Regions from separate parts of the Homo sapiens genome. Here all the other regions are linked to region 5. Evidence: promoter capture Hi-C in 16 types of primary human blood cells and fetal thymus (Javierre and others, 2016). All regions are on one chromosome and are shown on one strand. Each heading gives the region's core, a stretch centred on a gene start or on the middle of the fragment in contact. The rest is flanking DNA. Distances are from core to core; before and after follow the strand shown. Region 1 has its middle 26 kb from the start of LINC02202. Region 2 overlaps RNF145 (ring finger protein 145). Region 3 has its middle 46 kb from the start of LINC02202. Region 4 overlaps RNF145 (ring finger protein 145). Region 5 holds the start of FNDC9 (fibronectin type III domain containing 9).

Evidence for each region. The method cuts DNA at HindIII sites, captures the fragments that hold promoters and counts their contacts. A CHiCAGO score of 5 or more calls a contact.
Region 1: a fragment that was not itself captured here is called in contact with the fragment with the promoter of FNDC9 in region 5 in 1 of 17 cell types (M2 macrophages); the score reaches 6.5 in M2 macrophages.
Region 2: a contact is called between a fragment that was not itself captured here and the fragment with the promoter of FNDC9 in region 5, in 1 of 17 cell types (neutrophils). The highest score is 6.1, in neutrophils.
Region 3: a fragment that was not itself captured here is called in contact with the fragment with the promoter of FNDC9 in region 5 in 1 of 17 cell types (naive B cells); the score reaches 5.6 in naive B cells.
Region 4: a contact is called between a fragment that was not itself captured here and the fragment with the promoter of FNDC9 in region 5, in 2 of 17 cell types (neutrophils and naive B cells). The highest score is 5.7, in neutrophils.

What each region holds. Positions count from the first base shown.
Region 1 is chr5:159,125,383-159,128,153 of GRCh38, forward strand. No RefSeq gene overlaps it. Among named protein-coding and RNA genes, the nearest start is that of LINC02202, 26 kb to the left of the region's middle. The HindIII fragment of the contact is 1,223 bases long and covers 855-2,077 here.
Region 2 is chr5:159,202,591-159,205,649 of GRCh38, forward strand. It overlaps RNF145 (ring finger protein 145), which reads right to left. Exons shown (of 11, transcript NM_001199383.2): 2 at 844-1,066. The coding sequence starts at 1,027. Among named protein-coding and RNA genes, the nearest start is that of RNF145, 5.4 kb to the right of the region's middle. The HindIII fragment of the contact is 2,049 bases long and covers 489-2,537 here.
Region 3 is chr5:159,145,088-159,147,935 of GRCh38, forward strand. No RefSeq gene overlaps it. Among named protein-coding and RNA genes, the nearest start is that of LINC02202, 46 kb to the left of the region's middle. The HindIII fragment of the contact is 292 bases long and covers 1,450-1,741 here.
Region 4 is chr5:159,175,052-159,178,196 of GRCh38, forward strand. It overlaps RNF145 (ring finger protein 145), which reads right to left. Exons shown (of 11, transcript NM_001199383.2): 5 at 1,581-1,816. Among named protein-coding and RNA genes, the nearest start is that of RNF145, 33 kb to the right of the region's middle. The HindIII fragment of the contact is 1,873 bases long and covers 682-2,554 here.
Region 5 is chr5:157,343,916-157,347,076 of GRCh38, forward strand. FNDC9 (fibronectin type III domain containing 9) reads right to left here and starts at 1,762. Exons shown (of 2, transcript NM_001001343.4): 1 at 1,626-1,762. All of the region lies in intron 23 of CYFIP2 (cytoplasmic FMR1 interacting protein 2), which reads left to right. The HindIII fragment of the contact is 2,139 bases long and covers 204-2,342 here.

The DNA.
Region 1 (2,771 bases), core at 216-2,715, 1.8 Mb after region 5:
TTTAATTCTGTCAAATTTTGCTTTATGTGTTTTGAAGCTCTATTATTTGGTGCATAGAGATTTATAATTGTTATATTTTCTGAATGTATTACCATTTTATTATTATAACATGTCCTTTTGTCTCTGATAATATTTCTTATTTTAAAGATTATTTTGTCTGATAAAAGCCATTCCAACCCTATGGTTAATGTTTACATGGTATATTATTTCCATCCTTTTCTTTTAACCTATTTGTGCCTTTGAACCTAAAACAGATCTCTTATAGATAGCATATAATTGGCTCTTGCTTTTTCATTCAGTCTGACAATCTCTGCCTTTTGAGTGGAGTATTTAGTGAGTGTTTAGTCCAATCATGTTTAATGTAACTGTTGATAATCTTTGCATTTATGTTAGCCATTTTGCTGTGTGTTGTTTGTCTCATGTATTTCCTTTGTTCCTGCTTTACTGCCTCCTTTTGTGTTAAATAAATATTTTTAATGTGTCATTTTTAATTCCTCTGTGTACATTTTACTATATGTCATTTAGGTGTTTTCTTAGTGGTTGTATTAGGGTTTACAATATGCACTTCAACTTATCACAATCTACTTCAGAATAATACTAAGTCATTTCTGGTAAAATATAGAAACATTGCTCTAATACAGGGGTTTCCAATTTTTTGACTTCCCTGGGCCACATTGGAAGACAAAGTGTCTTGGGCCACACATAAAATCCAATAACACTAATGATAGCTAATGAGCTTTAAAAAAATTCCATGCATAAATCTCATAATGTTTTAAGAAAGCTTACAAATTTGTGTTGGGCCACATTTAAAGCCATCCTGGGCTGTATGTGGCCCACAGACCATGGGGTGGATAAGCTTGCTCTAATATATCTCTTTTTTCCCCCTTCATTAGTGCTATTATGTTGTATAGATTATGTCTCTACATTAACTCTATACAACTAGATTGTTATAAGTATTGCCTTATACAGTCTTGTATCATTTAAAGAAATTAAAAGAAAAATGAGAAAAACTTATTTCTAGAGACTTTTACAATTTCCCACATATTTGTTATTTCTGACATTCTTCGCTTATTCTTTAGGATTACAGCTATTTTCTGTTGTCACTTTTTTTCAGCCTAACAGACCTTTTCTGTATTTTTGTAAAGCAGCTCTGCTAGTGAGGAATTCTTTCAATATTCATTTATTTCCGGAACATCTTTATTTTTGTATTCACTTTTGAAGGATAATTTTGTTTGATGTAGAATTCTAAGTTTGCAGGCTTTTAAAAAATTTTCCTATCAGCACTTTGAATATAGCTTTCTACTGCTTTTCTGGCCTCCATTCTTTCTGATAGGAAATCAGATGTTACTAGGATTCTTGTTCCTCTGTGTTGTGGGGTTTTTTTATGTTTTTGAGATTTTCTCTTTGTATTTATTTTTCAACAGGTTAATTCTGAGGTGTCTAAGGAGGATCTTTTTGTGTATATCCTACTTGAAATTCTTTGAAGTTCTTGGATCTGTACATTAATATATTTTCATCAAATTTGAAATGTTTTTGGCCATTACTTTTAGGTGTTTTTCTATCTCATTTTCCTTTCCATCTCTTTCTGAGACTCCCATTACACCTAGGTTGGTACATTTAATATTATTCCACAGGTCTATAGGATTGTCTATTTCTCTTTCATCTTTTTTCTCCCTATTTTTCAGATTCGGTAATTTTCACTGCTCTCTTTTCAAATTCCTGGTTCTTTCTTTCTTTCTTTTTTCTTTTCTTTTTTTTTTTAAGGTCTCACTCTGTCACCCTGGCTGGTGTGCAGTGGTATGATCTCAGCTCACTGCAACCTCTGTCTCTCAGGTTCAAGCAATTCTCCTGCCTCAGCCTCCCGAGTAGCTGAGATTACAGGCGCATGCCACCATGCCTGGCCACTTTTTTTTGTATTTTTAGTAGAGACAGAGTTTCACCATGTTGGCCAGGCTGGTCTTGAACTCCTGGCCCGAAGTGATCTGCCTGTCTCAGCATCCCAAAGTGTTGGCATTACGGGCGTGAACCACCACGTTCAGCCCTAGTTCTTTCTTTTGCTAGCTCAGAATTACAGTTAAGCTTCTGTAGTAAACTTTTCATTTCAGTTAGAATTTTTAACTTCAGAATTTTCATTTGTTTTAAATAATTTTTGTCTCTTTATTGAGATTCTCTATTCAGTCATTGTTGTCATGTTTTGCTTCAATCTTTAAAAATTGTTTTCTTCAGCTCTTTGAACACATTTATAATAGCTACTTTGAAATTTTTGTCTTCTAAATTCATTATCTGGAAACACTCAGAGACAGTTTCAGTAGACTCAGTTTGGTCATCCTTTTGGTTTCTTTATATGCCTTGTAATTTTATATTGAATATTGAACATCTTAGCTAATACTGCAGCCACTCTGGATTGTGATTTTTTCCTCCTAGAGTTGTTTGTTTGTTTGTTTGTTTGTTTGTTTTTTAACTTAGTAACTTGCCTGGGCTAAATCTATAAAGCGTGTGGCCACTGTTGACTTTGATCAGTTTTTATCTTTGTTTACATTTTAAAGCCTGGATGCCTAGGAATTGCCCTTGACAGCTTAGAGTTCAGGTTAAGAATGGTCAGCAACAGCACTCAAACCCCTCAAGCCAGTGAGGCTTTCACTCTTTGCTAATGGGCTATGTGTGGAGTGGGGAGTACATTCAAAACTTAGGAAGTTTTTAAGTCAGGCTTGACTTTTATTTTCTGTTGGGCTTTCTTATTTCTCTTCTGTTCATGTGTGCAGGTTCTATTG
Region 2 (3,059 bases), core at 263-2,762, 1.9 Mb after region 5:
GAGAGACAGGACAACTCTTCATGACTTTATAAAAGATATATTTTGTGACAGGCAACTCTAATAATAAAATATTAGCAAAACCACTATAGTACCATTCAAACCATGTCTGGAACTCTGCAATCACAACATTAATAAAATATATTGCTATATACATTACAAATAAACCAAAACCTAAAAAGTAAGGATCATGATTTTTATTCTAGGTAAATTTTATCTGTTTCATGCTTGTATTTCTTGACTTTAATTTCTTCAATCTCTTATCATTATTTTTACCACTAACCCCATAGCATATCAATGATAGTTCCATTTTTCTTGAAAGGGGATTCAAGCAAAAAAAAAAAAAATTATAGTTCCAGGAGGATTTTTTTTATGGAACAAAGTATTATAGTATCATTTCCCAAATTTCATTTAACTGAACACTTTATCTTCAGCTGATGTTAATGTTTTCGTTTATCTCAGGGAACAATAAAGAATGTTGCATTTTAAAAAGCTTACTTTCTGAATTACTACCAAACCCCAAAACAAGGACAAATTAGAAGGGGCCAAATGTCTCTAAAAGTATTTCTCATTGTTTATATTTCATCATATTAAAATCTAGAATGTTTTCTTCTGCCTTCCAGTTTTATCCAGTAAAATAAATCCAATACTGCTTACTTTCTTGTAGCCTTAATAATTCATGTGCAATGATAAGACAAAACTATCAAGATTCATAAACACTCATCAATAACTATATCACTATCATCTTAATGAAAATGAACTTCATTTTACCCAAATTCAAAAAGATACTAAGACATAAATCAGAATGCTCACTAGAAGATTAGAAAATGTGATGTAGACACTCACCTACATAATGCATATTAAGAGCCAAATACTTATACTGGAAAAGAGGGTTATTACTAAGGCTACTTCTTTGGATCTGCTGGAAAAAGGAGCTGACATCCCATCTGTACAGGACATCCAACAGCATGATGCTTGGCACCCTCAGGGCCACATTTAACACTGCCTCCAGTTTCTCCTTTGCAGCCATGTTGTTTTTTTTTTTCTTTTTTTTTTTCTTGGAGAAGACCTAAAATTCAGAAGACACAATATATAAAAATAAAAAGTCAACACAAATCGCTTTTAGATACCCTTTCACGAATCTAATAGGTTGTCACACACTGTACAAAACTATGTGAGAACGTATACTACTTCTCAGCCACAACTACTATTTTTAGATATTCATAAAATAACCTCTGTATTGTGTTTTCACATTGACCCATTCAGTTCTGTCCAATCTTATAATTCTGATTAAATGTTCTGGCCTCAAAACTAATTTTTTAAAAGGCCACTAACTCCAAATCTAGGAACAAAACACTCTGTAAGACTACTGTAACTTGTATAAAATTAACTTGAAAAATTCACTCACTCCAATAAAACTATGATTTATGTAGCTCATAAGAGGGTGAATTTTGAATATTTACTCTATGAAAAAGCCTAAGCAATTCAATAAAAACTTGATAACTGCACGTTTAGTTTGCAGCATCTTGTACTCTATGCTTTTCCTTATTCACTTACAATCAAAATTGAAGTGCTAAATTTACAATCCAGAGAACTCATGATGTAGATACAGGTAGAGGGAACATTATTTACAATATCATTTCCTTGAATCTTTAAAGTTAAATATGGTCTAAAATTCCCATAATCTGCCTTCAAGTGTTCATCAAATTCTTCCCTTGATACACAGATAAGCAGGCACATGGAAGACGCCAGGCATTGAGTCTGCAGCCCCTGTCTCTGCACAGACCATGATAAGTAGTGGGGGGGGGCAGGGGGAGGAGGAAATGAAAGGCAGTTATCAGGACAATTTACTATTTAAAGGGACAATTCAATGCCATACTGCTTTATATGGTAGAACTTCAAATTAATCCAAAAAAATATAAAATAGGGCAAACAAGGCCGGGCGCAGTGGCACACGCCTGTAATCCCAGCACTTTGGGAAGCCGAAGCAGGCAGATCATGAGGTCACGAGTTCGAGACCAGCCTAGCCAATATGGTGAAACTCCGTCTGTACTAAAAATACAAAAATTAGCCGGGCATGGTGGTGCACACCTGTAGTCCCAGCTACTCAGGAGGCTAGGGCAGAAGAATTGCTTGAACCTGGGATGCAGAGGTTGCAGTGAGCAGAGATCACAATACTGCACTCCAGCCTAGGCAACTGAGCTAGACTCCGTCTCAAAAAAAAAAAAAAAAAAAAAAAAGCAAACAAAAGTGGGTAAAGAACAATTTAAAGAGTAAAGATAATTCTGGATTGTTGGCTCTGACAATATCCTTTTAAGAATTTTGCTGAGAAAGCTAAACACATTTCCAGCTTTAGCAGTAATTTCAGACATTACAGGACAAACGAAAACATTTATTTCTGCAGAAAATTATAGTGACAGATTGCTATGCTATGGTTAAATATTTGTCAGTATTTCCATCTTACCCTCCAATTTTCATAGCTTCCTAGTTCAGATAGTCAAAAAGCTAAAGGCAACCCAACTTGGCACACTATCAATAAAAGCTTTTCAATAATCATATATCAACCATTCCCATAACCCAAATGTTTTATATATATAGCCTGCCAATAATATAGATTTAACATTTTTATAGATAAGTACTGCAATTCTGATTATTTCACATGAACAAGATCATTTTCATAATTTTCCTACATAAGAAAAAATATTATTGTGAAAATCAGAACTAAATATCATGTCCTAAGAAGGAAAAATGCACTGAAAAATAAAATCTCTAACCTTTAATATTTATTGCAAACCAACCACTGAGGAATCTAAATTTCTCAAAGCCCATGATATTATTATTTTTTCTAATCCCAGGAAAAAATACACCAAAACATTCACAGAAATTGTTGGTAAAGAGTTTAATGCATTTTAATGTGTATAAGCCATCTAGATAACTTCAGGAATTACAGTGGAAAGACTTACTTTGGTGAGCAAACTGATAACCCAATACCCTCTTGGGAATTTATTTCAAAGTAATATTGAATAGATCTTCTCACAAACCACCAGCCACCATATTTGAAA
Region 3 (2,848 bases), core at 346-2,845, 1.8 Mb after region 5:
GGGAGGGTAAATTAGTTCAACCATTGTGGAAGACAGTGTGGCGATTCCTCAAGGATCTAGAACTAGAAATACCATTTCACTCAGCCATCCCATTACTGGGTATATACCCAAAGGATTATAAATCATGCTACTATAAAGACACATGCTCATGTATGTTTATTGCAGCACTATTCACAATAGCAAAGACTTGGAACCAACCTAAATGTCCATCAATGATAGACTGGATTAAGAAAATGTGGCACATATACACCATGGAATACTATGCAGCCATAAAAAAGGATGACTTCATGTCCTTTGCAGGGACATGGATGAAGCTGGAAACCATCATTCTCAGCAAACTATCACAAGGACAGAAAACAAAACAGCGCATGTTCTCACTCATAGGTGGGAATTGAACAATGAGAACACTTGGACACAGGGTGGGGGACATCAAATGCCAGGGCCTGTCAGGGGGTGGGTGGCTGGGGGAGGGATAGCATTAGGAGAAATACCTAATGTAAATGACAAGTTGATGTGTGCAGCAAACCAACGTGGCACATGTATACCTATGTATCAAACCTGCACATTGTGCACATATACCCTAAAACTTAAAGTATAATAATAATAAAAAAAAGCAACTACCAAAAAGGAATAATGATCTTCAGGGGTCACGGATAACATAAATGTTGGGATCTGGGTAGGACCTAGTGAACTGGGTGGGTGGGAGGGAGTAAGTGCCTGTTAAAGGGCAGAAGCCCCTGGGCTCCTGATGAATATTATGGTGGAAATGGGCTGAGACCTTCTAATTTTTCCAAAGAATCCAGGAATCCATACTTTTTGTGTGAAATCTCACCTTTTTTATTTTTTCGAGACAGTGTCTCACTGTGTCACCCAGGCTGGAGTGCAGTGGTGTGATCACAGCTCATTGCGGCCTCCCTCAACGTCATGGGCTCAAGCAATTCCCTCAGCCTCCCAAGTAGATGGAACCACAGGTGTGCACCACCACACCAGCTAATTTTTGCATTTTTTACAGAGACCAGGTCTCCCTGTGTGGCCCAGCCTGGTCTTGAACTTCTGGCCTCAAGTGATACTTCCACCTCAGCCTCCCAAAGTGGGAGTTCATACTTAGCATAGTGGTTCATAGAAGTATGAACTACCATACACAGCCTGATTTTTAAATGTTCAATTTTTTTAGAATCACCATCCAAGCAAAACAAAAGAAGTTTGCCAGTCAGATTCAGCTCACAGATGCCAGTTCGCCAGGTCTGAGCCCCAAAATTAGCAGCAGCATGAAAGTCATTGAACTTGCCTGATGCTGATTTAAGAGAAGATTGGTTGTTGAGAATACCAAGGTTCAGAGTGGAGGAAATCATGCTACAAACCAGGCACACTGTCGCGAGAAGATCTATCTCAGGTGTCAACGGCAACAGAACAGCAAAGTGCTGATCTCTTGGGACACTGTGATTCCCAAGCTTTGGTGCACGCTGGAATCACTAAGGGAGCTTCTAAGAATTCCCGTCCCTAGCCCAACAAAATTAGAATGTCTGGGTGTAGGACCCCAGGTGATCTCAATGTGCAGCAAAGTTTGAGAACCACTATGCTAAGGGACTCTCTCTTGAGTCTGAGAACCTGTCTCCACAGTGTTGATAAAGCTGGTTTTGGGGGAGCGGCGGGTATGCCTCACAGAAGGCAAGGCAGTATACTCAGTTGTAAAGATTTGAAGGTTTTCCCACATCTGGTGAAAAGGAATCTGGGAGCGACAAGCTTAAATCCATCCTTAGTGACTGAATTTACGAGCAGTGGACTTTGCCAACAGCCATGGTTAGGTAGAAAAGTTTGGTGCTCCTTTAAAAAAATAATCACACTTTATTGTTATCATTTAACTGTGAGTCTTCCAAGTGCCCCATGAGAGTTCTGTGAGGGCAGGGGTGATGTCTGGTGTTAGTCTGCATCTGGTTCCTAAGGGCTACTTACAAATGTGTATTGGTGAGATGCCATGGAGACGTAGGGAAAGCAAGCTACTAGCTGGGAACAGGGAGGGCTTGCGGGTGGGACTCTGGAGAAAATGCCAGGTGTCTATATCAAAGAACAGGGGTGGGAGGTCTTCGGGGTGGGGGTCACCTTGTGGCAGCTACTGAATGAATGAAACTGGTGAAGTCCCCAGCACATAAAAGCATCCAGGAGTTACTTCCTAAGATGCTTTCCCTACTACCGCCTCCAATTTTAAGTGCAAGAATGAAAAATCCAAAAAATACGTGTCTGTGAATAAACACTGTAATGTATTGCTTAAGTGGATTCTGAAGCCAGACTGTGTAGGTGCAAGAACTTACTGCTGTGGACTTTGAGCAAGACATCAAACTCTGCCTCAGCTTCCTCATCTGGATATGTAGATGATAATGCCTACAGGGGGTTCTAAGGAGTTCATGAGTTATTCATAAAGGGATTAGAAGGCCACAGAGTGTGAGCTATTCTTTTCTTGGAGACTATCAGTAAAAAGGATATAGTTTGCTAATTATCAGATAAATGAAAATCAAAACCACAATGAGATATCATCTCACACCTGTTATAATAGAATCTCTATTATCAAAAAGTCAGAGGCTGGGCACGGTGGCTCATGTCTGTAATCCCAGCACTTTGGGAGGCCGAGGCAGACAGATCACCTGAAGTCAGGAGTTTGAGACCAGCGTGGCCAACACGGTGAAACCCCGTCTCTACTAAAAATACAAATGTTAGCCTGGTGTGGTGGCTAGTGCCTGTAATCCCAGCTACTGGGGAAGCGTGGGGGAGAGAATTGCTTGAACCTGGGAGGCAGAGGTTGCAGTGAGCCGAGATCGCGCCACTGTACTCCAGCCTAGGCAACAAGAGTGAG
Region 4 (3,145 bases), core at 368-2,867, 1.8 Mb after region 5:
ATAAGGTATAAACATCTTTAAGTATTAAGTTAAAATAAATTGACTTGCAGATTATTCTAAATTTAAAATTCTTTCATCAGTAAAGCAAAGGCTTTTTCTACAACCCAGTCTATTAACTTCTATTTTCCCCAGTGACAAAAGATTAAAAGAAAAAGGAAACTGCCCAACTAGCTGCAAAATTATTATCAGGTAAACTCATCATTACGAGGCAGAGAATATTTTTCTTCCTTTCCATTCAAGAAACAGACCACTAAAAAAACCTGTCTGTTTCCATTTCTTGCTTATCTGATTCTTTCCTGGTCACGCATTTTATAACCTATATTTCCAACAACTACATCTAGTTGATGTATGAATCTTATGGCAACCAACTAAACATGACATTAAAAAATGAAGGCTGAGGTTATTCAATAAATATTTAATATTCAATAAGTATTTACTGAATATTCATTATTTATTACAAACAAAGATAACCCTCATAAGACTGAATTCAAAGAAAAAATATGTATCTTAAATTTGTCATTATTACCCTGAATACAACTATAACCCTTCCTGCCCTGCTTCCCCATGAAGCCACTCTTCACTGACTGTAGAAATAATCCCTTTTCTGGAAGATCTACTCCTGGGAAAACTGCCCAAGTTAATCACTGTGTAAGACGAAGATAGAATCAGGCTAAGGCCAAAAGCTTAGAGAAAGTATTCTCAAAGATCTGCCCCTGGGGCCACAAGAGAATACTTCACTTAGCTGTTATCAGTTTGTTCTATCTGAGAGCTTCCTGTACCTTAAGGACACAGTCAAGAGGTGGAAGACAGTGACATTTTAACACTCTCTTTTTATACCAATGTCAGGTTAAAATCTATTTTATATATTACAAACTATCAATTAAACCAAACAGAAACATTTATTTCCCAAATGTGTATTGTTTGTATCTGGGAGTAATTTATCTTAGAGCAAAGGCTGAAAAAAGTAGGGAAGAAACTTTTACAAAAAGCATGTTATGTTGGCAAAGTCAATTCAAGTACTATATCTAAATGAAATCTATCATATTATAACCCAGAACTATTTAACTTTTCTGTTTAAATTAGGCACACAAAGGGAAGAAACTATAGTCACAGTAGGACTATAATCAGAAGGAAAAAGCAGGATTTGACTTATAGGTATTCAATTCTTTATTATTTTTGTCTTCATTACAATAGCTAACACATATGGAACATTGTCTGCCTGGTACTAAACTCATTTAAATCTCACAGAACTCTATGAGGAAAGCACAGCTTTCATTATTAGCTCCGTTTTACAGAAAGTAACGCAATTATCACAAGGTTACACAGCTAGTGAACAGCAGCATCAGGGTTCGATCTCAGATAAATCTGCTTTAAGAGAACCACTTCACTTTACTGCCTTCTCAATAGAACATAATCAAGAATCTTTCAGATGCTCCTAATTGGGCTGAAAATAGCAGCTGTTTTGAAACTGCAAAAATGAATGGTACCATAACTGTGAAATAAAAATGAACTATAACTTTAATGTACTTAACATTTATGTAGAATTTTATCTACCTGTTTGTGGTTGTCAGCAGTCTTACCTGAACCAATTCTCTGTATGCAGATTTAGCAAGGTTATAAGGTACCAAAAGATTAGACCCAAGAAAATAGAGAACTTCCAATCCAGTAAAAATCATAGCAAATTTATTGATGATAACAATTGTCTCCAAAGGAACAAGGCAGAGTCGTGCTAGCAGAGGAAGCATGTGAGCTGAAAACAGCCAAATCTGCTTTGTTTTCATGACACAGGAGCATAAAGTACACACCACCAACTGACCTAAAATAGGGAATAGAATACATTTAATTTTGAGTATTTGGCATCCACAAAATAAAAACAAACAAAAAACACTGTTGATAAGGATAATAACACAACTTTTGAAGAAGTCTAACTAAAATCTCGTAGATAATATTTTAAATCAAACTTAAACTTCATCTGACTATAATTACATATTCACATGTTCTGTGAATTTTGAATACTAATTCTGTAGGGCTGATCTGGAAAGAGCAGCATAAATCTCCACTGGTCGTCTGTGATGCCATGTGTAATATGAAGAAAACTTTAAACAATGTCTAATTCAGTATTGTGACAATTCAGTTGCTAATGTTTATACATAACTTCTTTTCCAAAGGTACGCAATATTTAACTGTTCTGGTCTATAGGTGAAAGCATAAAATCCAAGAGATATAATTACTTGTTCAAGATCATACTGCAACAATATTTGTTCTGATAATTTTTTAATCTTTATTTTTGGAGGGCCAAGTAAACTGCCCCAAATAACTAAATCATAAGTTAAAACTAAAAACTAAATAAATTCTTCTCACTGGGGATTACGCATGATCATTACATTAAACACAGAAATACAAAGAACAAAATGGGAAACTCTCAGTCTCTTATAATCCCACAACCCAAAGGTAGTCCTAAGAACACCCTGGGGTACACTGAATGTATGTGACATGATATTTGCATTTAGCCCTTTCCAAATATTCCATAATTATAAAATGCTTTGTATGAATAAGCTTTTACATTATGACATCCTTGTATAAACTACTTGGAACACATTTCCTAATATTCTCTTAGGCTAGGAATTACTGAATCAGAAAAAAACATTTTTAAAGACTTTGACACACTGTCAAGACTGCCCTCCAGCAACAATTTACCAGTGTATAATGTGGCTATTTTTCTATTAACTTGCCATAGTGAGTATAATTTAGAGATGGGAAGAACAGGGAATATTTCCCAAATTTTTTAAATTGGCATTTTGTTGGTTACTAACAGCACTGAACATTATCAATAAGTATATGAAAACATTTGCAATTATTTGGTGAAATGTTCACATTCTTTGCCCATTTTTCTGCTAGAATACGTATCCTACTGCCTGATCGAAATAGTAATCCTTAGTCACATGATTGCATTTTTCTAATATGTCCCTTGTCTTAATATTTTAAATAACTTTATTCTCTTATAAAAGTATGTATTGAAAATAGTCAAACCATTTTTTTTCTTAATAGTACCCACCTTTAGTGCCATGGCTTATTACATGGCTACCCCACTCAAGATTATACAAATAGCTGTATTTTCTTTTAGTAATTTTTAGCTAATTTTTAA
Region 5 (3,161 bases), core at 512-3,011:
ACCTTTATTCTCAGGTCTGTGACCTCCCCTCAGGCAATTGATTCACCTCAATTTTCCTTCTTGACCTCCTGTTTCTGCTCCAAGTACTGTGAGCTCAGTGATCTAGAACATTCTGCCCACTGCTTTTTTTAGCCTCCTGGTTCTGTTGCCCATGGTGAGTGGAAATTCGCTTCGTCACTCTTTGGCAGCTGATCTCACCCCAAAGCTTCTGCTCTTGTTTTGTTTGTTTGTTTTTTCAAAGCCAGCGGTACCAGGAAATTTATTTTATGGGTGAAGATAATCAGCCCCTAATATCAGCATAACTACCACTATTTAATTCTGCTGTTATTATGAATGTTAATCATGGTAATAACCACTCACAGTAAGTGGTTGCTATGTCACTTGTCATGCTAGATGATTCACAGGCAGTAATTAATTTCCTTTATTCTTCATCACATCCTCTGAGCTAGATTCCCATTTTACGGATGAGCAACCTGATGTCACACCGCTAATACGTAGAAAAAGGACTTAGTGCCGCCTAACCACTACATTTCCTAATGCAAGGCTGCCGGGTTTAGTTACAGACGTTATCGCAAAATGAGGTGCCAGGACTGAGACCCAGTTGCTGTTTTTCCAGACAAATCAAATGAGCCCTCTTTAGATTGCCAGGCCCCGCTTTGATAAGAGAGAGCCATCTTCAAGTATTTTAGTTTCTCTCATGCAGTTCCCTCTACTGATTGCCCCTGATCAGAAATACAGAGACAGTCATAGTCAGCCTACGCATATTCACATAACAGTCTCACCCTGCTTTGTCTTCCGCCTCTCCTCCCTCACATGAAACCCCGTAGGTTTCATTTTGGGTTGCAGTGACATAGTAAACAGCTGTCAACTGGATTTTCGCCTGCATTGGATATTAAGCCAAACCAATGGCTATTATGACCTGCCTTTCTCTCACCTCTGCTTTCCCCCATCCTCTTGTGTTTGTGCCCATTTTCCTCCAGGAGTGGAGCTGCAGAAAGGTGCACAGCATTGAGTAGTTTCTTAATCCTTGTTTTTCTTCTGTAAGGGTAACAGTGAACTAAGATACTCAGGAAGGTGAATAGTGTCTTTCTATGTGGCTGAATATTTCTTCCCAGTAAATAGGGAACGAAAGGGATGAGACGGATGTGCTCAGACCCTTCCAGGGAAGGTCATCATGAAGGAGACCGAATGTTTATGTTTCCTAGCTTGGTGTCCTCTACACACTCATCCTCCCCACACCACACATCACTATAAATACACTTTCGACCACGATGAAAAGAGCTTAATTCATTATAGGCAGCCACCTGTGTAAAACCTTTCCATCAGGAGTAATCAGGAATCCTGTTTCTTGTCACGCACAAATGTTCTCTTGGCTTCCTATCTGCCACTAGCTGTCTGTACAGATGGAATTACCTCAGCAGACATTTTTAAGAGCTTTCTGTCAAGACGCAAATAGCATCCTCACCTTTTAGGACCAGGTCCGTCTCCCTTATTGATTTTTCTTCCTCTGTTTCCGTTTCTAAATTCTCCCCTATTTTTAACTATTCATTTGCCCGGCCCTTCTCCAAGCAGAGTGTGAAAAGAAGCCATTTCCATTTCCAAGAAGAGCCATCTATATGTCTTACCTGATGCTTGCAGCGTGTCTGGTTAGAGCTCTGCCCTCCGAGGTGCAGTAGATTAAAGCTGAGAGAATGGGGCCTTCTCCCTCCTCTGCTCTGGGCTTTCCGTGTTGTTTCTCTCAACACTGAGTAATCCCACTGCCGCCCCTAATGCTCACATTATTCATTTCTTCAGATCAGCATCATTCACCATGGCAACCAGCAGGCATCTGTACGCACGATGCTTTCAGGGACCAGCCTGGAAAGGCTTTTGCCCAGTGAGAGGAGCTCTCATTCCTTTGGCTGAAAAAGGGCAGATGATCCCCTGAAAACTGGTCCCCAGTGCAGTACTAATTCTTCTAACACTCCTACATTTTCTCCCCAGTTGGCTGATTATTATTTTCTTGTCCCATCTAGATCCTCTTTGGCCAATGGTTTTAAATGCAAAGATGCTTTTCTCAGTTATTCCACAACCAAAGCAGTAATATTCATCTTCATCCCCTCCCACCCCTACACTTCCCCATCCCAACTGCCTACCCCACCTCTTTATCTTCATCTTTCTTTATTCTTGACTCATGTGCCATTACATAGTTATATGGTACTGGTCAAGACCCTTTTATTTTTATTGTCTGAGTCTCAGTTCCACCATCATCTGTAAAGCTGTGGGCTTGGGCTACATCAGGATGGCAGATCAGAAGGCAGAAGACCTGAGCCCTATCCCTGCACAGCCCTGAACCCCTGTCAAGCTTGCTAAACCATCATGGCACTCTCACTGGGTTGAATAATGCCCCCCCAAAATACATATCCATCCAGAACCTTAGGATGTGACCTGATTTAGAAATAGAGCCTTCGTAGATATAACTAGTTAAGGATCTCAAGATGAAATCTTCCTGGATTTAAGGGTGAGCCCTAAATCCAATGACTAATGTCTTTGTAAGAGAAAAGACAGAGAGACTCAAGGGGAAGAAGCCAAGGGAAAACAGAGGCAGAGAGTGGAAGGATGCTGCCATCAGCCAAGGAACACCGGGAGCCATCAGCAGCTGGGAAGGCAAGGAAACATTCTCCCCTAGAGCCTTGGAGAGGGCATGGTTCTGCGAGAGCCTTGATTTCAGGCTTCTGGTCTCCAGAACTGTGAGAGAATAAATTTCTGTCATGTTAAGCTGCCACATTTATGGTAATTTGTGATAGCAACCCTAGGAATCTAATGCAGCACTGCTTCCAGCTGGGTGCAGAAACAGCCCCAGAGTTCCTCTGAACACAAGCGTCCCAAGAAACTGCTTCCCAATCAATCAGTTGGAGTTGACGCCAGAAATGGAAACTGTTTGCTACTCCTGGATTGAATCATCCCCAGCGTTCCTTTCCTTTCAAGAATCCAGACTGCTTGCCTCCCCTTTTCTCATAAAGGGCCGTCTGGCTTTGAGGTTCCATCCCTTCCTGTTCCTTTCAACCTTGTAAGAACCCATTGCCACCATTCTATTGAGATCACAGGGTGTGTCTGGAATAGAGGGTGGAAAGTAGCTCAGATAGATGTAGACCTGAATAAATTTATACACATTATATGTT